2 separate regions of the Homo sapiens genome follow, and region 1 is linked to region 2. Evidence: promoter capture Hi-C in 16 types of primary human blood cells and fetal thymus (Javierre and others, 2016). All regions are on one chromosome and are shown on one strand. Each heading gives the region's core, a stretch centred on a gene start or on the middle of the fragment in contact. The rest is flanking DNA. Distances are from core to core; before and after follow the strand shown. Region 1 overlaps KIAA1671. Region 2 holds the start of PIWIL3 (piwi like RNA-mediated gene silencing 3).

Region 1 (2,700 bases), core at 66-2,565, 300 kb before region 2:
CCTATGTGGCTCCTCACTCCCCCAGGACCTGGTCACCCACAGAAAGCAGCGGACAAATGAAAATCTCTCTCATTATCACATCTAGGAAAGACTTTCTAAACTGCCTCATCCTACCTCTTCATGGTCCAGATGGGGAAACCAAGGCCCAGAGAGGAAAAGACTTGCCCAAGGTCACTAGAGAGGTGGGACACAGCCAGGTGAGGAGCTGTGACTCTGTCACTCCACAAAGCTGCCCCTAGGAGGCTGAGGGCATTACTGCCCAGCCTCTACTGGCCAGGATGAGCTTAGGCCAGTACCTGGAATGTACCATGGGCATGCCATGGGCTCTTGCTCTTTCTGACATCCACCCCAGCCCTTTGCACATGCTGTTCCCTCTGCCTGGCACACACTTCCCTGGACCCCTACCCTAGCATCAACTGCCAGCTCCTAGGCATCCTCCAGCACTCAGCTTCCTTGGGGAGGCTCTCCTGGCCCCTGCACCCCAACGAGACCATATCCCTTGAGGCACTGTGCACCACCCCCATCCTAACACATACATGGTCCTTGTTTCAGTTCCTTGAGCAAAGTCCAAATTCTCACCAGACTAAGTTCCATGCGGTCAGGGGACCATGCCGTCTTGCTCCTATATTCCAAGTATCTGGCGCTAGCTCCAAACTACTGCTGGTAAGTGTGTGCTGAATGAACATGAGATCGTAGCCATTTGTCAATGAGTTCAACACCTATGCCAAGCTCTAAGTTCTGGGGACCGTGGACTGTATCTTAGTCATCTCTGCATCTCCAGCATGGAGCCCAGAGCCCAACACGCAGCCAGGCACATCAAGGTTATCCAGACCTTGCAAACCACACAATTCAAAAATACGATTATTGGAGACTTCTTTTCTTCTTTGTGCCTGTCTGAATTTTCCATATCTTTTTACCATGCACATGCATTATTTTTGTAATTAAAACATCAATCAATCAATCAATCAATGTTGCCTTACATTTATTATATAAGAATGTTCATAGGCCAATGATTGAACAATATGGACTGGGGGGATCTCCTGTTTCCCCACTGCTCTGGGGGGCTCAGGAGGGAGGTGAGACACTCTGGGACTGGCGGCTAAAAGGCAATGTTTCCTAAAGTTGTATTTTTAGGAGCGCTGGAAAATTCTCTGGGCAAGAAGGCATCTGAAGTATTTGCAAACACTCAGCAATGGGAAAGATAATATTTCCTAAGACTTTCCCTTTTGGGTGTGCTGAAACCAGTGGCAAATATTCTGGAAAACTCTGAGACCAGCCCATGACAATTCTTCGGTAAGTCCCTCTATTCCCAGAGCCCTGATGGATGTCACACAACCCAGAATCACCTACACCCACTCCTTATTTCACAGAGGAGGAAACAGAAACCCAGAGAGGAGAAGTAACTTGCCCAGGCACAGAAAACAGACCAGTTGCGAAGTCAAAGTGAGACCTGAAAGCATTTTATACCTCACAAAGCACTTCTGCACAGCTTCCCTGACTTTGGCATTTCATCAGAAAATGTTCTGGTTTTTTTCCTCTGTTATCCAGAGGAGACAGCACAGTGTGAGTGTTAGTGGGGAAGGGGTCCCAACTTCTTCTATCACTGTGTAGGTTCAGGAAAAGGAAAGCAAAATCTATTATTTTCATCCCATAGAAGACAGACATTCTTACACACACAGAGGCAAGAGGGATGTAATTTCAGAATAAAGAATAGTCCTTTAAATCAAATAAATGTTGCTTTCTGAAAAACTCACTGAAGTGGTTCTCGTTCTTCCTGTTTTCTTGAGGACTGGAGGAAAGCCCACATCGGATCCAGGATCTTCATTCCTGTTCAGGAGTCTCAGCTCTTCCTACAAACCTGTGCTACCTCCCAAACCAAGCCCGTTTCCTTTTTCCCCAACATTCTCTCTTCCTTGTAACCTCCACCATTTCTTAAAGAAAACAGAGACATTGCTAACCAGACACAGCCAAAAAGCAAAGTTGACAGGAAGCAGGAGGAGAGGGAAAGGACGTGACCCCGTCCTGGAGCCTGCACTGCCCCCCGCCACTCACCCAGAGGTAGCGCAAGAGCTTCAGCAGGCTGGGGCAGTAGTAATACTCCATTTCCAGCACCCAGAGGTTATGTGGTGAGCACAGTACGGTTTCCAGCTTTCCTCTAGCGGGAGCGGCTCTTCTCACTCCTGTCACGCTGGAGTCAAGTTCAAGGCGGCATAAATCATTCAGAAGCCGGCTCACGGCCAGGGGACCAGCCAGTCGGCTCCACTAATGGCCACGGCTGCCTGGGGAACTGAGAAGCCACCACTCGGTCCTATGAGCCCCGCCCGGGGCATCTCTGGCTTCTCGTCCAGTGGGGCGGGTCCAGGGGTGGATCCTTCTGAACCCAGCTGCCTGGACCCTCACCCTCCCGGGAGCCGTAGGCACGGAGGGTTTTAGGGTTTTCAGTTGTACGGCAAGAAGGCAAGAAGAGAGAAGGTGATGCCCGGGAACTGAATGTGTGCACGCGTGTGTGTGTGTGTTTATGCATGAAGGAGTGTGTGTGTACATGCTTTTACGTGGAGTCAAGTATGTGTGCATGTGTGCATACGAGTGTGTTTTGTGCATGTGTGGACTGACTGTGTGCTGTGCGTGTGAGCCCAAATGTATGTGGTTCCTCCTCCCCAAACCACATGAGGAGAAGGAGGCCCTGCCACTCGTTACAGG
Region 2 (2,700 bases), core at 69-2,568:
TCTGGGAATAAAATCTCCGTTGCAAAACTTAAGATCAGTGCTTGAGATATTTTGCATACCCTGAATTCCGATGCAGCAGATGACACCACCCAGACTGATAATCTGGCTCAACCAGTCCTGCGATCTCATCCAGGAAGAGAAATCAGCAAGAACTCACTTCCACCCCCATGATTCCATCTCCAACCCGACCAATAAGCACTCCCTACTTCCTGAGCCCATACCCACCAAATCATTTTTAAAAACTCTGATCCCCGACTGGGCATGGTGGCTCACGCCTGTAATCCCAAGGTGGGTGGATCACTTGAGGTCAGAAGTTTGAGATCAGCCTGGCCAATATCATGAAACCCCGTCTCTACTGAAAATACAAAAATTAGCCTGGTGTGGTGGCATGCACCTGTAATCCCAGCTACTCAGGAGGCTGAGTCAGGAGAATCGCCTGAACCCGGGAGGCGAAGGCTGCAGTGAGCAGAGATCACATCACTGCACTCTAGCCTGGACGACAGAACGAGACTCCATCTCAATAAATACATAGAGATATAAATAAAATAAAATAAAATAAAGTTTCTTAAAAAAAATAGGAAATCTCCTGAAAAACCTTTTCAGAAAAATAGCCACAGGTGCATGTTTGGCTCGTGTTTTTCCCAGAAACAACCTAAATCTGGCTTGATAAACCTTGATTGATGTATTTGCCCCAGTCACTCATGTTGTAACCAGCAAAAGGGCCCAGCTGCTCACTGCTTGTAGAAAGAAGTCAAAATGATAATGACATGTGATTTAAAAAGAAAGAATTTTATAATCTATGCTAGCAAGGGCAAGAGCAGAGAGCAATTCCACTCTTCCACGTGAGGAAAGAACGCAGGGGTTTTTTTTGTTTGTTTTTTGCGACGGTGTCTTGCTCTGTCGCCCAATCTGGCTGGAGTGCAGTGGCGCAATCTCAGCTCACTGCAACCTCCGCCTTCTGAGTTCAAGCGATTCTCCTGCCTCAGCCTCCCGAGTTGCTGGGACTACAGGCACATGCCACCATGCCCAGCTGATTTTTTGTATTTTTAGTAGAGACGGGGTTTCCCCGCGTTAGTCAGGATGGTCTCCATCTCCTGACCTCGTGATCCTCCGGCCTTGACCTCCCAAAGTGCTGCGATTACAGACGTGAGCCACTGCGCTCGGATGAACGCAGGGGTTTTTATTTATTTTATTTTATTTTTTAAGATATTTATTTATTTGTTTATTTTTTGAGACAGAGTCTCACTCTTTCACCCGGGCTGGAGTGCAGTGGCGTGATCTCGGCTCACTGCAAGCTCCGCCTCCCGGGTTCACGCCATTTTGCTGCCTCAGCCTCCCGAGTAGCTGGGACTACAGGTGCCCGCCACCACGCCCGGCTAATTTTTTGTATTTTTAGTAGAGATAGGGTTTCACTGTGTTAGCCAGGATGGTCTCCATCTCCTGACCTCATGATCTACCCGCCTCAGCCTGCCAAAGTGCTGGGATTACAGGCGTGAGCCACCGCGCCCGGCCAAAGCGGTTTTTAAAGGGAGGATTTGGAAGGCAAAAGAGGCAGGGGGACTGGGAGGTGTCAGGTGGTGTGACCCCCTCCAGTGGCTTGTCCTGAATTATTTTTCCATCTGTGGAAGTGGCCGGCGTCATCATGGCTGGAGGAGGTGCATGGTTCGTATCAGGATCTGACTACTGAAGCTTCTAAGGAAATATGTGACCAGATAAGTGAGTATGGTGTGTGCTTACCAAACAACTAGGTAAATAAATGTGCATAAGGCATGGGGGCATAGAACAGGAAAAGAAAGGGGGTGGAGGTTCACAGCACATTCCAAGGCTGGATTTCAAGAGGAGAGGAAACACGTCTATACTTTGTCTAAGTTACATCTTCAGATTAGCAGAAGAGAGGAAAGGGGAAAGGAAAAAAAGTTTTAAAATGCGGTTTGAGGTTAGGCTGCTAAGCTGCTGGGTTACAGATTCAGCTTATATTTGAGCATGTGGAGTATGTATATTTATTTTAAAAATCTAGAGCATCTTGGTCAGCCACAGTGGCTCATGCCTGTAATCCCAGCACTTTGGGAGGCTGAGGCGGCTGGACCATGAGGTCAGGAGTTCAAGACCAGCCTGGCCAAGATGGTGAAACCCCGTCTCTACGAAAAATACCAAAATTAACTGGGCGCAGTGGCGGGTGCCTGTAGTCCCAGCTACTTGGGAGGCTGAGGCAGGAGGATTGCTTGAACCTGGGAGGCGGAGGTTGCAGTGAGCCAAGATCGCACCACTGTACTCCAGCCTGGGCAACAGAGTGAGTGAGACTCCCATCTCAAAAAAAAAAAAAAAAAAAAAAAATCTAGAGTGTCTTGTACATATCCTTTAATAACCTACTTTTAAAAACTTAATATATTTTAGATACATATGTATATGTGTACCTACTTACATCCTTAAAACTGACGTGATGATAAATAAAACCGCGGAATTTCTATCAATATGTAAATGCTCTTCTCAGAAAAGGCGGGCTCTTTGCTCCTGTGGTTGATGGGGATGATGCAGATGGTGGCAGAGGCTTCCATTTTTTGAGCATTCGTTGTGGGACCTGCCAGTGCTTCAAGCTCAATACACCTTCTCCCATTTAACCCTCACAGCTCAGGAGGGGGTCCTGCCGGGACCTCCACTGCAGACAGGAAAAGAGGAGAAAGTTGGTATCTTCTGAATTCT

The links. The method cuts DNA at HindIII sites, captures the fragments that hold promoters and counts their contacts. A CHiCAGO score of 5 or more calls a contact.
Region 1: a fragment that was not itself captured here is called in contact with the fragment with the promoter of PIWIL3 in region 2 in 1 of 17 cell types (M0 macrophages); the score reaches 5.2 in M0 macrophages.

The regions. Positions count from the first base shown.
Region 1 is chr22:25,069,769-25,072,468 of GRCh38, reverse strand. All of the region lies in intron 6 of KIAA1671, which reads right to left. Among named protein-coding and RNA genes, the nearest start is that of KIAA1671-AS1, 42 kb to the left of the region's middle. RefSeq lists an enhancer at 2,296-2,700. The HindIII fragment of the contact is 2,931 bases long and covers 1-2,700 here.
Region 2 is chr22:24,773,338-24,776,037 of GRCh38, reverse strand. It overlaps PIWIL3 (piwi like RNA-mediated gene silencing 3), which reads left to right and starts at 1,318. Exons shown (of 21, transcript NM_001255975.1): 1 at 1,318-1,716. The HindIII fragment of the contact is 5,025 bases long and covers 1-1,691 here.